5 separate regions of the Homo sapiens genome follow, and all the other regions are linked to region 2. The links are contacts of gene promoters, found by promoter capture Hi-C in blood cells and fetal thymus (Javierre and others, 2016). All regions are on one chromosome and are shown on one strand. The core of a region is centred on a gene start or on the middle of the fragment in contact, and the rest is flanking DNA. Distances in the headings are between cores, read along the strand shown. Region 1 has its middle 92 kb from the start of PCED1B. Region 2 holds the start of SLC38A2 (solute carrier family 38 member 2). Region 3 has its middle 56 kb from the start of PCED1B. Region 4 has its middle 97 kb from the start of SLC38A4. Region 5 holds the start of LOC124902925 (a long non-coding RNA gene).

What was found. The method cuts DNA at HindIII sites, captures the fragments that hold promoters and counts their contacts. A CHiCAGO score of 5 or more calls a contact.
Region 1: a fragment that was not itself captured here is called in contact with the fragment with the promoter of SLC38A2 in region 2 in 2 of 17 cell types (M0 macrophages and M2 macrophages); the score reaches 5.6 in M0 macrophages.
Region 3: a fragment that was not itself captured here is called in contact with the fragment with the promoter of SLC38A2 in region 2 in 2 of 17 cell types (endothelial precursors and M0 macrophages); the score reaches 8.2 in endothelial precursors.
Region 4: a contact is called between a fragment that was not itself captured here and the fragment with the promoter of SLC38A2 in region 2, in 3 of 17 cell types (M0 macrophages, M1 macrophages and M2 macrophages). The highest score is 15.0, in M0 macrophages.
Region 5: a contact is called between a fragment that was not itself captured here and the fragment with the promoter of SLC38A2 in region 2, in 2 of 17 cell types (M0 macrophages and M1 macrophages). The highest score is 7.6, in M0 macrophages.

The regions. Positions count from the first base shown.
Region 1 is chr12:46,985,965-46,989,838 of GRCh38, forward strand. No RefSeq gene overlaps it. Among named protein-coding and RNA genes, the nearest start is that of PCED1B, 92 kb to the right of the region's middle. The HindIII fragment of the contact is 4,004 bases long and covers 1-3,579 here.
Region 2 is chr12:46,370,669-46,374,768 of GRCh38, forward strand. It overlaps SLC38A2 (solute carrier family 38 member 2), which reads right to left and starts at 2,105. Exons shown (of 16, transcript NM_018976.5): 1 at 1,841-2,105; 2 at 510-711; 3 at 108-189. The coding sequence starts at 625. SLC38A2-AS1 (SLC38A2 antisense RNA 1) reads left to right here and starts at 2,115. Exons shown (of 2, transcript NR_187299.1): 1 at 2,115-2,194; 2 at 2,645-3,110. RefSeq lists enhancers at 1,035-1,184, 1,265-1,594, 1,284-1,987, 1,845-1,924, 2,605-2,664 and silencers at 1,615-1,814, 2,015-2,354. The HindIII fragment of the contact is 15,961 bases long and covers 1-4,100 here.
Region 3 is chr12:47,022,012-47,026,043 of GRCh38, forward strand. No RefSeq gene overlaps it. Among named protein-coding and RNA genes, the nearest start is that of PCED1B, 56 kb to the right of the region's middle. The HindIII fragment of the contact is 1,022 bases long and covers 1,318-2,339 here.
Region 4 is chr12:46,921,271-46,925,353 of GRCh38, forward strand. No RefSeq gene overlaps it. Among named protein-coding and RNA genes, the nearest start is that of SLC38A4, 97 kb to the left of the region's middle. The HindIII fragment of the contact is 161 bases long and covers 1,733-1,893 here.
Region 5 is chr12:46,960,631-46,964,606 of GRCh38, forward strand. It overlaps LOC124902925 (a long non-coding RNA gene), which reads right to left and starts at 1,244. Exons shown (of 2, transcript XR_007063287.1): 1 at 1,203-1,244. The HindIII fragment of the contact is 7,311 bases long and covers 1-3,976 here.

The DNA.
Region 1 (3,874 bases), core at 328-2,827, 610 kb after region 2:
AGTAAGACCAATCCTAGATAAAACAGACTTTAAATCAACAACAGTAAAAAAGAACAAAGAAGGGCATTACATAATGATAAGGGCTTCAATTCAACAAGATGGCTCATGTATCCTAAACACATATACACCCAACACTGGAGCACTCAAATTCATAAAACAAGTACTTTTAGATCTATGAAAAGACAGACAGCCATAAAACAATAGTAGAGGACTTCAACACACCATTGCCAGCATTAGACAGATCATTAAGGCAGAAAACTAACAGAAATTCTGCAGTTCAATTGACCAACTGGACCTAAGAGACACTGACAGAATATTTCACCCATCAACCACAGAATATCCACTCTTTTTGTCTGCACACAGAACATACTGCAGGATCATCCACATCCTCAGTCATAAAGCAAGTGTCAATAAATTTTTTTAAAATTGAAATCATACCCATCATATTCATGAACCACAGTGGAATGAAAATCGAAATCAATACCATGAAGCTCCCTTGAAGCCATACAATTACATGGAAATTAAACAACTTGCTCCTGAAAAAATTTTAGGTAAACAAAAAAATTAAGGCAGAAATAAAAAACATTCTTTGAAATGAATTAAAACAGAGACAAAACATACCATAATCTCTGGGATACACCAAAAGCAGTGTTAAGAGGAAAGTTTATAGCACTAAATGCCTACCTCAAAAAGTTAGAACAATCTGAAATTAACAGTCTAACATCTCACTTAGAGGAACTAGAAAAACAAGAACAAACTAACTCCAAAGCAAGTAGAAGAAAATAAATAACTAAAAATAGATCAGAACTGCATAAAACTGAGACACAAAAGCCCCCAAAAAATCAACAAAACCAAAAGATGTTTCTTTGAAAGAATAAACAAAATCAACCTAAAGCTATTTAGATTAACAAAGAAAACAAAAGGTGATCCAAGCACAATTAGAAATGACAAAGGTGACATTACAACTGATCGCACAGAAATAAAAAGATTTCCAGAGACTATTATGAACACATCTTTGCACACATTTTACTGTAGAAAATTTATGTTTCTATAGTATTGGAAATTCTGGCCAGGGAAATCAGGCAAGATAAACATATAAAGGGTATTCAAATAGGAAGAGAGGAAGTGAAATTGTCACTGTTTGCAGATGACATGATTGTATATTTAGAAAACGCCATTGTCTCAGCCCAAAAACTCCTTAAGCTGATGAGCAACATCAGCAAAGTCTCAGGATACAAAATCAATGTGCAAAAATCACAAGCACTTCTATACACGAATAATAAACAGAGAGCCAAATCATGAGTGAACTCCCATTCACAATTGATACAAAGAGAATAAAATACCTATGGGACAGAACAGAGGCCTCAGAAATAACGCCACACATCTACAACCATCTGATCTTTGACAAACCTGACAAAAACAAGCAATGCGGAAAGGATTCCCCATTTAATAAATGGAGCTAGGAAAGCTGGCTACCATATGCAGAAAACTGAAACTGGACCCCTTCCTTACACCTTATACAAAAATTAGCTCAAGATAGATGAAAGACTTAAACATAAGACCAAAAACCATAACCCTAGAAGAAAACCCAGACAATAACATTCAGGACATAGGCATGAGCAAAGACTTCATGAAAAAATGCCAAAAGCAATTGCAACAAAAGCCACAATTGACAAAAGGGATCTAATTAAACTAAAGAGCTTCTGCACAGCAAAAGAAACTATCATTAGAGTGAACAGGCAACCTACAGAATGGGAGAAAATTTTTGCAATCTATCCATCTGGCAAAAGTTTAACATCCAGATTCTACAAGGAACTTAAACAAATTTACAAGAAAAAAACAAACGACCCCATCAAAAAGTGGGCAAAGGATATGAACAGACATTTCTCAAAAAAAGACATTTATGCGTCCAACAAACAAATGAAAAAAGTTCATCATCACTGGTCATTAGAGAAATGCAAATCAAAACCACAATGAGATACCATCTTATGCCAGTTAGAAAGGCAATCATTAAAAAGTCAGGAATCAAAAGATGCTAGTGAGGCTGTGGAGAAATAGGAAGGATTTTACACTGCTGGTGGGAGTGTGAATCAGTTCAACCATTGTGGAAGACAGTGTGGCAATTCCCTAAGGATCTAGAACCAGAAATACCATTTGACCCAGCAATCCCATTATTGTTTATATACCCAAAGGATTACAAATCATTCTACTATAAAGACACATGCACACATACGTTTATTGTAGCACTATTCACAATAGCAAAGACTTGGAACCAACCCAAATGCCCATCAATGATAGACAGGAAAAAGAAAATGTGGCACATACACACCATGGAATACTATGCAGCCATAAAAAAGGAAGAGTTCATGTCCTTTGCAGGGACATGGATGAAGCTGGAAACCATCATTCTCAGCAAACTAACACAGAAACAGAAAACCAAACACCACATGTTCTCACTCAAAAGTGGGAGTTGAACAATGAGAACACATGGACAGAGGGAGGGGAACATCACACACCAGGGCCTGTCATGGGGTAGGGGGGACAAGGGAAGGGATAACATTAGGACAAATACCTAATGCATGTATGGCTTAAAACCTAGATGACGGGTTAATGGGTGCAGCAAACCACCATGACACATGTATACCTATGGAACAAACCTGTGCATTCTGCACATGTATCCCAGAACTTAAAGTATAATAAAAATAAATAAATAATCCATTTTATAACTTCTAGAAATAAATCATAACTCATATAGCATGTGAGAATACAGTATCAAAATATCACATGTATCCCATAAATATGTACAATTATTATGTATCAGTAAAAAAGAACCCCTTCTAGTTTAGAAGATATCCCTGTGTCTTATCATTTAGGGTCGCATATACTTTCTTTTTTATAACATTCATTCATCTTAATTTTTTGGTTGTTATATATTTCTTAAAGAGTGTTCCATTAGCCCAGAAACTATTGTTTATTCACTATTGTATTTTTCATGCCAAATAAGTCAAAATAAAGATTCAATAAGCATGAAAAAAAAGAAAATTTATGTTTCTAGGATAAATTCCTAGAAACACATAATCTCCCAAGATTGATTTAGAAAGAAATTGAAACCCTGAACAAACCAATATTAAGTCCTAAACTTGAATCAGTTATTTTAAAAAAAAAAAAACCTACCAACCAATAAAAACCTCCAGACCAGATGGATTCACAGCTGAATTTTACCAGACATACAAAAAAGAACTGGTACCAATACTACTATAACTGTTCAAATAAATCAAGGAGAAGGGACTCCTCCCTAACTCACTCAATGAAGCCAGCATCACCCTGATACCAAAACCTGGTAAAGAAACAATGAGAAAAGAAAACTACAAGCCAATATTCCTGATAAACATAAACACAAAAATCCTCAACAAAATACTAGCAAACCAAATTCAACAGCACATCAAAAAGTTAATCACAATGATCAAGTAGGCTTCATTCCTGCGAGGCTAGGTTGGTTTGATATGAGCAAATCAATGTGATTCCCCACATAACCAGAATTTTTTGAAAAAGGTATAATCATCCAATAGACATGGGAAAAGCTTTTGATACAATCCAACATCCCTTCATATTCAAAAACCCTCAAGACTAGGCATTGAAGGAACATGCCCCAAAATAATAAGAGCCATCTATGACAAACCCACAGCCTACATACTGAGTGGGCAAAAGCTGGAAGCATTCCCTTGAGAATTGGAACAAGGCAAGGATGTCTACTCTTACCACTCCTGTTTAACATAGTAGTAGAAGGCCTTGCCAGAGCAATCAGGAAAGATAAAAAAACAAAAAAGGGCATTCAAATAGGAAAATACATCAACGTATCTCTTTTTGCTGATGA
Region 2 (4,100 bases), core at 855-3,354:
TAAATGGAGAAAACCAGCTTTGGGCAAGTTAGATTTGAATTCTAAAAGTAAAACTATTCTTTTACTCCATAAAGCCACTGACAGACAAATTACTATTTTTAACTTACAAATTCTGTTTCATACTTCTTCTTCCCCAAATTCGATTCAAGTAAAAAGTTCTGGTTTTCAGGATCTACATCTGCATAATGGCTGCAAAAAATATAGACATATATAATTGTAAACTGGATTGAAATATCTATCATTACACACAAGACTGCTTTAACATAAAATACCCTCCAACAGCATAGCTCTGATACAACATCTTTACTTAATGTATAAATATTAACTAGGAGTTGACTTTCACACCAGCTATCTTGTCATTACAACAAGATAATCGGATACTCTTTCAGAGATTACGCACCTTCTCTAAATGCTATAGCAAATTAAAGCAATGGAAGCAGAGTCCTAGGTAACTCCCTGAACCCAACCCATGCAAGCCGTTTTTTCAAAAGTGTCACAACTTCTCCCACCTTTTCAGAGCAGCTTGCTTGGTGGGGTAGGAGTAGTTGAAGTCGCTGTTGGAACTGTAGCTGCTGCTGTCTTCATCCGGGGAAATACTGAATCGTCCCATTTCGGCCTTCTTCATGCTAAGCACTGGGAGGAATCGGGTGCAGCTAGTAGCGCTGGGCTCCTTTTGTCCTTGGCGGTGGGTGCAGCGGCCCGCGAGTCGGCCTGCGAAAGTAGAGGCGGCGCGTCAGGACCGCAGCGCCAGCCCGCCGCGGTCACGTGACGCCGCCCGGAGGCGCAGCGCGGCTGATTCATCCCAGGCCAGGCGAGTGGAAAAGTACCAGCCGCGCGCGAGGGGCGGGGGCGCGCCGAGGGGCGGAAAAGTACAGACGGCGGAGCCGCGGGGAGAACAAAGATGATGCCACCGCTGTGTTGCGGCCGTCGAGGCCCCCTACTCCGGCAGATTTCAGTATTTCACCCTCTCTATTGTCCCTCGTCGGAGTGGAGGGGGCGAGGGGGGGTTCTGTTTTGCTTTTTCCCAGTCGCTCCAAACTTGCACAGGCACTCAGGGCACACATCCAGCCCCGACCCTGGCTCGTGTGCATGCAACCTAGGCGCACGGCTTTCCGTTTCTAGCATTTGGAACAGCAATGCTGCGTAATCTGTCCTTTACTGCCCGGAGTCCCCACACGGAGAAATGCCTCTGCCGCAGACAGCCTTCCCCAGGAGGCGGAAAGGGCCGACACTACTCCTCTCTCGAGGGGGGCGAACGCCCGGGCCCCGGGAGCTGGGGGTTTGTTTACACACGCGCGCCAGTGCCCTCAAGCACACCCGTCCACAGGCAGCTGGCCCGCGAGTGCTACGCCCGCCCAGCCCCTCCTATGTCCGGAAAGAAAACTGATGCAATATCGATCGTCGATTGTCAAATGTTCCCAACTCGTCTTCCCCAATCTTGGCCTCTCCTGTAATACATGCCCAAGCCCACCTCCGCCGCCCCCAGATTCCTGGCTCCCTGGACTTAATTTTTTTTTTTTATTAAATGCAAATCAGTCACAAGACTTGCCGCAGCAGAGCCGCTGGCCGGGCTAGCTCCCCTCCCCCTAATGGGAAGATGCGGCTCCGCACCGTGCAGGCACGCGGCCCCCGCCCAGCGCCCGCTCTCCTACCCACGTCGCGGGCGCGACACCCGCGCGGCGGGCCAGGGTGGAAGGCTGGCCAGCCCAACCGACAACGCCCGCCTCGAAAGGAAACGGACCCCGCGGCCGCCTTCCCGCGCGGCCCCTCCCGGAAGCCCCTCCCCCACTCTCGCCCGGGCCCCGCGCCCTTCCCACAGACGCCCCCCCGCACGCGTTACCTCGGTGGTCTCTATTCTCACGCAGACGTCTTCAGTGGGTTTCTCTCAGTCAAATACAAATCATAAAAAACAAACAAAAAATTTCCCCAAATCCAACAACAGGCAGGAAAAATAATTTTAATAAAAAAGGAAAAGACAAATTGCCGCCCCAATCCTCCGGCGTCCGCCGTGTCAAGGGAAAGGCGCGAGCGTGCGGTAACGCGTGGTCGGGCTGCTGCTAGCAGTACTGGAAAGGCGTTCTAAGGCGGCGGCGTCGCGCGGCTGTGGAGCAGCCCTGCGAGCGGCGGGTTATAGCGGCACCCCGGGGACGCGTCAGTGGGCGGGACCGCGGCCGCCCGGGCGCCTTCTCTTTGTGTATCAACACCACCTGGGCCCCGCCTCCGACCCGCCCAGACCTAGGCCCCGCCTCCCTGCCCCTCCCTCTGCGGCCCGCGCCCGCGGCCCAGCCCCGCCCGCAGGCGCCCCCAAGACTCTCCCGCAAAGCCCAAGCCCACTCTCTCCAGCTTTCTAGATAGTCTGGAAAGACCCCCAGATGCTTCCCCTGCCTATCCTTTTCAGCCAGGGTTGGTGCTCAACACATGCGGTTGTCTTTGAGGAGCCATCTCCTTAAAATTTTCTCCTGTCCGAGTCACCAGCAGTCCTTGCTTTCGGGGGACACATCAAGGCTTTTGGGGGACACCACCCTCCCACCAAACACTTTCTTGATTGTTATTTTTGTGATTTACAGTGAAGTTTTGTCTCACAAACTTGGGCCAAGGCAGCAAGGTTGTCCTGATGGTTTGTTGTTCTTTCTTTTCCACCTAGACCTGCTTTCACTCTTCAAAACTAGCCGGAGGTCGGCGAGCAGCTCCTTTTCGGGATGTGCTTTTTGTACGGCCATGGAAACTGGACTAGCGGAAAGGCTACCTTTTGGCCAGCAAGCCAGGCCCCTTAGAAAGAGGCCCCAGTGGGGAGCCCGGCGCTCCTAAGGCCGTTTGGGAGTCCCCAGTTTTCCACTCGCTGACACGTTGCTTCTCTTATCCCACCACCGCCGCCCCGGGCAAAGGCACTGCCTTGTCTGAATGCGGGTCTGAGGCGCTTTCTGCGGAGCCTGGTCCTTTCCCTTCAATGGTGATGTGTGTGGTCTTGCTGAGCCAGGCAACTAGGGGGACCCTTCGCTGTGGAAAAATTGGTGCTGCGGGAAAGGCAAGACTCACTCCCTTGCAGGAAACAAAGACCCCTTAGGAGAGAGAAATGTTCATGGAATGAATGAATAAACAAGTTTGACCTACTGCTCTCTTCCTTTTGGGGACTTGGGAGAAATTGGGCAGGGCATAGAGGAAAGGGCTGGGTGTGATCGCAGTTTTTGCTTTCAATGTTTTACTGAGGAAATCCGTACAACTGCCTATTTCCGCCGCACGTGAGGCTTCGGGTGCCCTCGCCTGCACCAGTGTTTATGATTGACAAGCGAGGTCCCGATTTCCCCCATCACACTCCTGTGTTCCCTACCCCAAACCTTCTACTCTGTTCAGGCCAGTCTTCCCTACCGCAAACCTTCTACTCTGTTCAGGCCAGTCTTAAATAATAGCCATTCTTGCTTTGGTGTCCAATCTCCTCTCATCCCCTTAAATGCCGCTGTCATGCAAGGCTTAGTCTTCGAGCCACAGGAAAGCGCCCCGCATGCCTTAATCCCTCCGTACTCAGCCCTCTTTTTGCAGGTACTATTTTCTAAAACAATATGGTGACGGACTTTTAAAAATCCGTGCTGTCATGCACTCAAAATCGTTCCAGACTATTTGTAGTATCATCTGCCCAAAGATTGTGAACTCCCCAAGGGCAGGTTTGGAATTTGACACACAATTAGGGCTGAAAAAACTATCTTCCTTCCACATACATTCCCCAATAAAATCAATCAACTCTTCTTGTCACAACAATCTTGGTAGTGGTAGGTTAGAGAGGAGTCCCAGGAAGTTTCTTTATATTAGGTTTCAACTGATAACAATCAAAAGGTCTTAAACCACTTTTTCATTCCAGATGAATCTCTGGTCGTTTCCTCTGCCCAGTTAGAGGTGCTAAGGAGGCCCTCAGGGTTGGTAGTTATGGGTGGCAAGTGGCACTATAAGTAAATCTCATGTCTTTTGGACTTTTTGGTGGTTTGTATTGCAACACATATTTAGGAGAAGCACAATACCTGTACAGCTGAGGGCAAAGTGGAGGGCAGGGGCGGGGGGGGGAGCTGCAATATTGATCTGGTCTCTGTATGATCAGAACTTGAACAGTA
Region 3 (4,032 bases), core at 579-3,078, 650 kb after region 2:
ATTAAAGATTGAGAGATAATGATAATGATTTTATCTTTTAGTTATAGAATTGCCTTCAAATGCCTTGTTTTATAATCATCTCAAAGTCAAACAAGAGATTCCTTTAATCGTTACATCATTTTTCATAGGCAAGTAATGAGGGACTGAATGGTTTTGCTGTTGAAGACAGAAGGACAAAAAAGTAAAATCATATTCTCCAAACATATACAGATAGTATTGAAAAGAAGTGTAAGAATTAGTTATTGTTTGTTTGCCCTTGGAAATAACAGTTATTATTCTGTTATTATTTTTAAACATCTATTTTATTTATTATTATTAAAGGAGCAGTTATCACTAATGCAATCATTTCAGAAAAATTTTCTTTAAAGCAAACACAGGAAAACAGAAACAAAAACCACCTCCATTTAATTGAGTTCTTAGTATGTGCCACGTGATTTAAATACTTTACATACTTTTCTTACTTAGTCCTCACACAACCTGATAAAGTTTCATTTTATAAAGGAAGAAACCAGGCTGAGTCATTGAATAACTTATTTTAAGCCACATTGACAGTAAAGGGCAGCTTCTGGATAAAACCTAAGTGTGTCCAATTTTGAAGCCGTGCTTATAAATGTGACAAAAAATACTTTATAACCATGTCAGGAAAACATGCATTGTACCTACTACTCTACAAAGTCTAGCCAAGAGCAGAACTGACATGCATTGTCTTATTTGCCATAGGTAAATCAACAGGAAAGCGAAGTATAAACAGTTAACTCAGACTAGTATATTACCCAGGGTTTTATACTGGTTGATCTGCCATTATTCCAGAGGCAAGACTACAAATCACTTGGATAACATGATCCTGCAATGTCAAGGTAGGTAAATAACTTGTGAGAGTTTTTAAATGATGCCATCACCACTGCAGAAGAGTATATTTACTCCTTCTGCTTTCCTTAAAATGGCTAGCATTAGGCTCTTTATTCAGAAATTTTTATATTATAACATACCTTATCTTATATCATTATCTTCTCCCAACAATCTATTAGGCCAACGTGCTAGATCAGTGATGTTACTTTAAGGCCCTCTCAATCTTTTTTAAAAGTTGTAAACAGACCACTGTGCCACGTAAAGATTAAAGTGTAAAGACTGAGACTTCAAGAATAAATTTTAATGCTGTGATCATATAATATATAAATTTTGCCAAACTACTTTTTGAGCTGCATGCTAATTAAATACAATGCTTAACAACCACTGATACACACACACACACACACACACACACACACACACACACACATAGAACTACTTTTACATAGCTAAACCAAGAAATGGGAAAGCTTGTTACTTTGTTTCTAGATTCCTGGATTCATAATTCAAGGGCATTGTGATAGATCTCCTTTGTTGTTCTTCCTATATCCACCCCTCCCTCCCCAAGCCAATGGAACCTTAAGTTCGTTCAGGTGGCTGCTGAGATCTTTCCCTCTGTCGAGTATTTATGGATGGGTTTAAACCAATCGTGATTCATCCCAGGGCCAGGGATAAATTATGATTGGTCTAAACCAGCCTTAGTAATCTTAGTAATCTTGTAACTTTGTCTGGGAATGAAGTGACAAATTTTGGTCAATGAGATGAAAGCAGAAGTTTTTGAATGAGCCTCCAGGGCTTGTCTTTCTGATTAACACAGATAACATAGAAAAGAACTTTTGTCTTTCTGATTAACATTGATAAACTTACAGAAGACAGCCTTTGCCTTTCTCTTCTCTTCTGCCTGCAATGAAGACATAGTCCCTGGAGGCACAGCAGACATTTGTGACCATAAGATGACAAGCCTGAGGACAAAAGTCAACTTTTATTTTTTGAGACGGAGTCTCATCCTGTGGCCCAGGCTGGAATACAGTGGCATGATCTCGGCTCACTGCAACCACATCCCCGGTTCAAGGGATTCTCATGTCTTAGCTTCCCTAGTAGCTGGGACTACAGGCATGCACCACCATGCCCAGCTAATTTTTGTAATTTTAATAGAGACGGGGTATCACCATGTTGGCCAGGCTGATCTCGAACTCCTGACCTCAGGCGATCTGCCCACCTGCACTTCCCAAAGTGCCAGGATTACAGGCGTGAGCCATCTCACCTGGACAAAAGTCAATTTTCTAAGGATGATGCAACAGGATGATAGGTCTCTGACAGCATCGCTGAGTTCATTGAATAGCTGTATCAGGACGTTTCTTACCTTTGGATTCCTTGCAATGTGACAAAAAGTTTTATTTATATAAGCTATTGTTTGTAGGGGTTTCTGTTACTTGCAGCCTCATGTATTAGGTTGAACCATATGATATGTTGTAAACAAAAATAGTTGAAGCTTAGCAGATTTCTATGATTCAACCAATTTTATGAATTGATGCTGAATTCAAGACCCTTTCACTTCTCCAGCAATCAAAACCTCTCCTTTTCCTCTCTCCTGCCACCTGATACCACACAAAATAGATCTTTATATATATATATTTCTGACATTTAATCAATGATGTGCTGGTAAACTAGTTTGTTAGGAGGAAAAGCCCTGATTTGTACTGTATTTATGGTATAACTACTCCCACTATGTCTCATTTTAAGCTTCCAGCTTGAGGTCACTGAAAAAGGAGTTGGAAAGAAATGCTCGCAATCAGCTCTTCTGAGCTGCTACTACAGCCAGCTCCAGCATGCCACTGCCCACGCATTGGCCAAAGCTCTGTTACAGTGTATGATGGTCAGAGCTAATGTTAGAAAGTAATTTATTATCCTTACTATTATTCTCTTTGTAGCATTGAGACAAAGATACAAGAAAAATATAATATATCCAATAATTATATGATATATATGCTAAGTACATATTATGTACACATAAAATAATTATAAAATACAATAATTATATCATATAATTAGGATATGGGGAAATTGACAAGATAAATGTAGATCTTTGCCCTCTGATTCATTTAGATCTAGTAAAAAAAACTAAAGAAAATGTGTCAGAGTAGCCACCAAGGAGACATAAAATAGTATGAATTTTTACCAACAAAATAACTTATAATTTTGATATAATTATAATTCTACATTATGGCTTTATTATAATTTATAAGAATATATAATTTTACCAACAAATTAATTAATATGAATTTTTACCAACTAGCTCTTCTATTGCCTAACTTTTATCAGTTATCTCTAATGGGTAAGAAAGAAAACCAAGATATCCTTCACTGGTTATTCATTTTTTGAAAAAGCTGTATTCTGTTGCAGTTAAAGAAGATGAAGCATTTGACTTCCATTTGGGACAGTGACCTTTATAAAATACCGCCCTCCCTCCCCCAAACCCTCAGCCCCCAAACTCATTTTCTCTAGCTGTTGAATGCCAAAAATCCATTTAGTTTTCAAACATTGCCTTTTTTCTATTAGTTTTAGGTAGCTGGTCCAAGAAATGATTGAGATTCTTCCCAGTTTAAACTTAAGATGCTTGAATGTACTGCCAGTACCAAATGAAGGTCTCTGCATTCTTCATCACCCTGTGCCCAGTCTCCGTCTTTTATCATCTTCTTTTAACAATCTTAGTAATCCCAAATAAAGTGAAATGGAACATATTAATAGTTACTCTTGGGGAATTTTTTTTGGACTGGAGTTGATATATAACTGTGGCTGGATTATCAACATGGACTATCCTGTCTGGAGAGACAACTCAATATTAATAATGCAGATTCGAGCATTCAATGATCCTATACTTTGTCAAGCCAGAAAACTGTGAACCAACCTAGATCTGTCCTCTCACTCAACCTCCAAGTCTAATCAGTCAATAGAAAAAATAACAAATATATACTGAGCACTTACTGTATGGCAAGCAGAGAGTTAAATGCTCTTCACCTATTATTTTATATAATCTCCACAATCATCCACTGTGTTGTGTTACTACACCCATTTTATAGATGACAAAACTGAGATACAAATAAGCTAAGCAACTCATCCAAAGTCATGGCACTGCGGTAGAGCCTGCAAAATTTGAACCCCAGCAGCCTATCTTCAGGGCAT
Region 4 (4,083 bases), core at 563-3,062, 550 kb after region 2:
AGCTACTCAGGAGGCTGAGGCACGAGAATTGCTGGGAGGCAGAGGTTGCAGTGATCTGATATCGCACCATTGCACTCCAGCCTAGGCAACAGAGTGAGACTGTCTAAACAAACAAAAAAATTGTTGAATCCAACTGTTACTTTTCATATGTTTTAACTGAAACATATTTACAGAGTAATATATCTTGTATTTTTTCATTCTCTGTGAAGTAGGAAGGAAAGATTTTATTGACTCAATTTACAGATGAGAAAATGAATAATTATGTGGCTTTCCCATGGTGACATAGCAGGTGAAAGAGCCATGACTCACTCCACTTTCCAAAGGGAAAGGAAATGTAGTGCTTTCTTTGCCTTTGCCTAGTCTTAGAGATTGCATTTTTGTTTGTTTTCTACTTTGGAGGCTAGGGTTGCAAGAGTAAACCTGTTACTAACTGGCTAGCTTGGGGTGAGTAGAACAATAAATGAATGATAAAAAATACTTTGTTAGGCCATAATGAACAGCAAAATTTCAGGTATCAAGGCTAAACAAGTATTAGTTCTGTGTACTTCACATTTTTTCCCTGAAATTTCTAGCTGTCCAAAGTCTGCTTTCTTTAAACTAGACTTCTAGACAAGGAATTGAGAAATTTTTCCTGTAAAGAGCCAGATAGTAAATATTTGGGGCTTTGTGAACCATATGGTCTCTGTTGCAACCACCCAACTCTGCTGTTGTAGCACAAAAACAGCCTGGATGATACATCAGCAAACGAATGTGGCTGTGCTCCAATAAAACTCTATTGCTGGATCCTGAAACTTAATTTTCATGTATCACAAAATTTTATTCTTCTTCTGACTTCTTTCAACCATTGTAAAACATGTAAACTATTCTTAACTCACGGATGGTGGGCTGGATTTGGTCCACGGGGCTGTCATGTGCCCACCCCTGCTAACCACCCCTTGAAGCAATATCATCCAAGCAAGCTGCTCTGAGCACAGTTCTGACAATATTATTTCTTTTTAAAAACTCTCAGTGGCTCCATGCAGGCTATGGAGTGAAGTATAAACTAGTTGACATGAACACAACCCTGTCCATGACCAAGGTCCAAGCTGCATTCTGAGCAATATCCTTCCTCACCTTCCAAGATCTAACTAACTTGGGCTCTCCCCGGAAAGGTCTGCTCTCCCCACCTCCACTCCTCGGCCTAGTCAGCTGTGTCCCCCTAAAATGCCTTCTCTACTCTCATCACTGTTTCTTCCTGCCGAAATTGTACCCTTCCTTCTACCTTCATCTCTGAGTCTTCCCTAACCACCCACCACCACCTTCCCAGCTAGACTTAACCTTTTCTTTGTAGTCTATCTTTTGCAATACATGTTAATTTTTTCTGGTATTTAATAGACTCTGCCCCTATTAATAATTGTGTATATGGTCTTCTGCCCTACAAAGTTATTAACTATTGAGGCCAGAACCTGTATGTTATATTTTGGTTGGGTTCCCTGGTAGATTTCCACACTAGGATTCAGTGGTAGGGTTCAATAAACATTTGGGGAATTTAAATGAATATCCCAGAAAGGATCAAAATGGAAGCACTTAAGTGTTTGAAAATCTATTTGCAATTTCAGAATAAGAAAATAAGTAACTTCACTATTTCATAGTGTCTTCAAGCTGTTGATAATAGGAGAGAAAGGAAATTTTTTTTTTTTACTAAATCGAGTTATTCTTCATTTTATGAAAAAAGATTAAATAAATTTACCTAAGCTTAATTAACTGTTATAATTGGCCACAAATGAAAGGCTCCAATTAGCTCTAAATTGAGTGATGGCAAAGGAATCTTCTTGTCAAGACAGACACACAGGAACTTAGTAACAGCTAGAAGCAAATTAGCTACACCTATTCATGAACCCAGACAGAGAAACAAGCTTTAGCTGAGCAGGCCAAAGAGCAAACAATTTAAACTTAAAAATGAAGACCGAGAAGACAGAAACATTAGTTAAAGCAGAAAGAGAGAAGGAGTGAACCACACAGGAAGGTGTGTGTTGTGGCAAAACTGGCCTGGTCTATCTTGGAATTCATCTTATACCTACTTATAAGGCTCCATGTGGTGTTTTTCTTATTCTTTCTGGAACCATCAAATCATCACCAACTATTTCAGAGAGTTACCTACTTCTAAAACCCCCCTCATTTTTAAAGACCAGGTTGTCTTAGTGCTGAGGACAGCAGATAGTGGCAAGAGATTTGAAAAATTTAATTGTTTGTTCTATTCTCACAGAGATACTTCACACTCAATATTTTACTTCTAACATCGGATGTGTGGGGTTCTCTCCCCACACACCAAGTAGTTCTCCAGCTGATCCCAACAGGGTGTCCTTTAATTTAATTCAACTCTAATACTGTCTACCAGGAGTTAGAGTCAGACCCCACAGTTTAAGGGCTTAGTCTCACAAGACTCCCCCCACTTCAGATGCCAATTCCAAGTAGGGTTTCCAGAATTTCTAACCAACTGGCGATAAATTGGGAGTTCCCACTGCCCCTTTTTGGGGCCCAGTCATTTGCTAGAGTGGTTCACAGGATGCAGGGAAGCAGTTTGCTTACATTTACCCATTTATTATAGAAGTATCTAACTTAGGAACACCCAGATAGAAGAGATGCAGAGGGCAAGGTATGGGAAAGCGGTAAGGAGCTTCCATGCCTTCTTGGAGTATGTCACCTTCCACGTGTTCAGTAACCCAGAAGTTCTCTGAACCCAGTCCTTTTGGGTCTTTATGGAGGTTCCACTATTAAGGAATGATTCATTAAGTTATTGGCCATTGGTGATCAACTCAACCTTCAGCTTCTCTCCTCTCCCCAGAGATCAGAAGATTGGGCTGAAAGTTCCAACCCTCCAACCATATAATTGGTTCCTCTGTCAACCAGCCTTTATCCTGAAGCTATCTGGGAGCCCCCAACTATCAGTCATTTTGTTAGTATACCAAAAAAAACACTTATAACTTCCCAAAATTCCAATGATATAATTTAGGAGTTCCAAACAAGGAAAAGGGAAGGAGGTAGGGGCAAAAACCAAAGTAAATATTTTGTTTATATTACCATAGCTAAGCTATGAAAGTTTTGTTAGGGCTTGGTCTGTCTGTCCCAATTCGCTAGGATCTTTTAACAAAGCAAGCCAAACATGTGACTGTGCCCTCTTCTACCTTTAATCTGATAAGCATGTTGCAGTGGATGGAGTTTCAGAAAAATGCAAAGAAATCTCAAGTCAACAGATGAGGAAGCTGAGGCCAGAGAGTTGAAGTAGCTTCCCCAGGTTCCGCTGGGAGTGTTGGCTCTGTGGCTCCAGCCACACTGCTCCCAAACCCACCTAGTAGACAACCATTCCCAGGGGAACAGGGTCTCTGAGCATGCAAAAGAAGGTTTGAGGGGCACAGGAGAATCTAGAGACATAAGAAATAATAATAATTGAGGCTCACTATGTGATGGAGGCATTCTAAGTGTCTTGTTAATGCTCAAATCACTCTCCCAGGGAAGCTCTGTTGCCCCACTTTATAGAAGAAGAAACTGAGGCTTAGAAACATGTAGGAACTTGCTCCAGGTTCCCCAGCCACTACTTAGCAGAGGAGAGGCTCTATCTCCCACAGATGTGCCAGAAACTTATTGAAATGTTTTAGGCATCCTATAAACACCTGTGAGACCCAGGAGTGTAAGCCACCCACCTTTTCTGCCACCACCAACCCTCCCCCCAAAATTCAAGACTGTTCTCAAAGACAGCTCAGTTAGAAGCAGGAGAAATCTCAAAAATAAAACAGTTATTAGTTAAAGTGTCCTCCAAACTGGGTGAGTGGCATATTCAGACAGACTGTGGTCAGGATGGGGAACAGTTAACAATCTTCTAATAAATCAGAAGGAAGTGTTCATTGGAAAGGATACTTAAGATGTAATTTATATGTCATTTAAATGGCCTGGGGTAGGAAAGTCCTCAAAAACATGTGCAACCCAATATGATCTACAGAGGTAGAAATGTGGTTTGAGCAGTTGAATATGATGTGGAGGTTTTCCTTGGAGGGGAAGACTGTGATTAAGGAAATAAAATGTTGGTTAGCCATTTGGAGAAAGCTG
Region 5 (3,976 bases), core at 391-2,890, 590 kb after region 2:
ATACTTGTAGTCAATACCTGTAGAGTATGTCTGCAAGGAGACTTATTTCATCTGGGTAGGAAGAAGTAGGAGTGGGGAGAACTTGCCTCAATTTCTTTACTTGCTTCAATTTCTTTACTATCAGGAACAGATGACTAGTTTAGCAAGAACATCACTGGCTCAAGGCACCCCTTCTCCTAAGCAGCGCATGTCTCACAGAATATTTCAAGGTTCACAGAGCAGTTTCACCTACCTTAGCAGCAATCTGTGATGTTTCACAGAGGAGGAAAGGAAAGCACCCAGATCTGAAGTGCCTCTCCCAGGAGATCATGGAGCCAGCCAGAGGCTGACACTGCATTGAAGTCCAAGTCTCCTTCAGAACCTAAGCCCTCTCCACCGTACTTCTTGGCTGATCCCAAGCAGATAGCTCTCATTTCTCAACAAACGTAAATAAGGCAACGTGCAATCTTAGAATACAAATGAAGTATTTCTCCTAAGGCATCTATTATAGGCAACTTATTGAATAAACCTCTTAAGATCAAAAAAAGATTCTTAAAACTGCTAGTCGTTATTCACAAACACACAACAAAGCCTTCCAGATTTATAAATTTACATGGAGAAATAAAAGTCATCCCAGAATAACTTTAAAATTGTTCAAAATAATGTATATACATCTATATTTGAAAACATCCTCAAGGCTGTTTTTTGAAAAAGGACATAAATATATGTCAAATAAAATAAAATTTGAAAAGACAAGAGATTCTGTGAGGAAAAAGGTCGTTAGATCCTTTGGAATTAACTGGAAAAATGATGGCAGTTATATGGGGAATCGGAAGGACAAAATGATATCGAATTTCTCTTTATGGATCACAGGCTTTTACTAGTGTAGTGTTATAAATAATTGAAAATATTTTTGTCTTCTTCAGAGAAGAAAGCAAAGTAGTATCAGGTCCTTACCTAGAGGGGACACACACACATATACACGCACACACACAACACACTCCTACTCATAGATCCCACTGGGAATTTGGGAAACAGAACACCCCATTAGGTAATTCTCTTTAAAAGTCAATTCAGGGCTGGGCGCAGTGGCTCACGCCTGTAATCCAAGCACTTTGGGAGGCCGAGGCAGGCAGATTATGAGGTCAGGAGATCGAGACCATCCTGGCTAACATGGTGAAACACCGTCTCTACAAAAAATACAAAAAAAAAAAAAAAATTACCTGGGCGTGGTGGCAGGCGCCTGTAGTCCCAGCTACTTGGGAGGCTGAGGCAGGAGAATGACGTGAACCCGGGAGGCGGAGCTTGCAGTGAGCCGAGATTGCACCACTGCCCTCCAGCCTGGGTGACAGAGCAAGACTCCGTCTCAGAAAAAAAAAAAAAAAAAAAAAAAAAGCCAATTGAATGGGTGGGTGTATCTTAAAGCCTTTTCCCTCTAAAGATCCCTGTGATAGTGTTTGAAATCCCTCTAAAGAGCCCTGTGACAGCATTTTAAAAAAACCCTGCTACCTACAAAGTAGATGTTTGTTACATATTTCTTGGATAAATGATTGATACAGGATTGATTCAAGACAGGACATAAAAGATCCTGGAAGGCCAGGTGGATGACTATCACAACAGTCCAGCAAGAGGTAATGATGACTTATGTGGGGGCAGTGGAAAGAAGAGGGCAGAACCAGGACCACTGCACAGGTAGAATTGACCTCGTTATTGAATATTCAGCAGCTTCTCACAATCTAGAGAACTATTGAAGGCTCTCCATTCACTTCCTTTATCTACTTCTTGGCCCACACTCATTCTCCATGCAAACATTAGTTCTCTCCTAATCATCCAGGAAGTAAAACCTGAAATACCTAAATAATTAAAATCAATTATACTCCGATAACATTGGAAGCAGCTGCTATACTCTTCATAATATATTTTACAGATTAAACATTCATTTCACATAGTCAGGTTTGTATAGATGAGTTAATATTTTATAAAGACATTTGTCTTCAGGAAACAAAAAGAAATATCAGACTATCACCTACATGAATTCTGAAGGTACATGAATTTGCCCATTACATTTTGCTACTTTGAGACATTAGAAGACCTCTCAAGAAGTCCGAACCTTTCTGTTGAGACTTGTTCTTAGATGAGACAAATCTGATCTCTCAAAAAGATGAGGTTCTCCTAAAAACAGTGTGTCAGTTCTCTGTGAACTTGGGAAAAATTGTGAAACAGAGACCTTGATTCCCTATTCAGACCTCCCATATACAGAATTCATGAGTGTCAGCTAGGATCTGTCCCCAGATATTGCATGGGCTTCATCTCTTGATACTATGGACAACTTTTGGTAGAGGAGGTAGAGGATAAAAGAAAATAAGAGATCACCTGCAATCTTAGTGCAGACTGTAAGGAGTTCAGAGAAAGTGCCAGCCTTCAGGAAATGTCAGGACAAGTGTTAGCTCAATTCAGTAACCAAATTCAGTTCAATTCAATTCAACTCAGCTTGGATGTTTATCAATAAGTCTTAACAATAATTCTTACATTAAATTATTGTCATGAAATTTATGAAACTTCTGCTGTGTGCATTTGATTTGTTTTATTCAGCATTTCTTTTTTCATGCAGTCCTAAGTTGTAAGGTGGCTTTCTTCCATTCTCATAAGAGTTAGCACAAAGAACTCTCATCCTTGTTCCCTGTTATCTCTTATGCATGCTTACTAGCAGCTGGTGGGAGCTGCTAAGAAAAAATGCCATTCTAGAGATATAATTTGGAATCAAGCAGAAGTATCTGCTGCAGAACTAATCACATGTTTGGAGTAAAGGATTGAAGTGTGAAGAAAGCGAAAGACAGTCAAGGCTACATATGGATATTTTTAAAGTAAGGCTCATGTGCAGCAGCTGAAGAAGTATGTCAGTGTTCCTTGCACTCATGTGATGTGACACTTATATGGCTCACTTCAAAGTCAAAAATGACATTGTCAATACTCTGCTTTTTTTTTTTTTAGGAAGGGTCTCACCCTGTCACCCATGCTGAAGTGCAGTGGCATGATCATAGCTCACTGTGGCCTTGAACTCCTGGGCTCAAGCAATCCTCCTACCTCAACCTCCTGAGTAGCTAGGATTAGAGGTGCACACCACTGTGCCTGGCTAATGTTTTTGTTTTGTTTTGTTTTTTTGTAGAGGGATCTCACTTTGTTGCCCAGGCTGGTCTCAAACTCCTTGCTTCAAGCGATCCTCCCACCTCAGCCTCCCACAGTGCTGAGATTGCAGACATGAGCCACTATGCCTAGCCTATTCTGCTTTTATTTTGAGAATTTCAACTTTTTCCTCTCCCATATGTCTATATAAATGATCCATCACCATGGGGAGGGGAGGGAGGTGGAGGTGGAAATGAAGTCTCCACATGTGGAAAGCAAATATCTGGAATATGCCGGAGTGTAGTACCTGCATAGGTCATACTGGGTCAAAGATTACAAACAATTCCACTTAAGGGCACGAAGAGGAATTGGTGCCTTTGAGGTCAGCGTGCATTCCAAGTTCTAGAAATAGAGTTTCAACAAGTTCTGCCAGATGCCTTATCTTGGCAGCTTTCCTATTATTATTTCCCTTGACTGCCAAAGAGCAACTCCCCCACTGCCATGCACAGGTCAGTGACTGGTGCAATCAATGAATCAATCAAATAGGCAACAACTGGTTTTAAGAACTGGCTCCATACTGAAGGCTTCTGTGGGGATTGCATTCAGCCAAACCTCCCAAGGGCACATTGAGAAGGATTTGTACTAGAACATATTATTGTTCTCAGCTCCCAGTCATTTCTTTATGAAAATTACGTTGATTATTTTTGACAAGGGAGTGTGAATGTAGGGTATTCTGTGGGAACTCTCATCTCTGCACTCCTCAAGGCTGAGATGATTAAGATCCATATGTAACAAAGTTTTTCCACAATGTGAAGCAATGGAGTCAAGGATGGTGATATCCAGCCCCGTGCCACCACTTCCCCACTTGAATCCA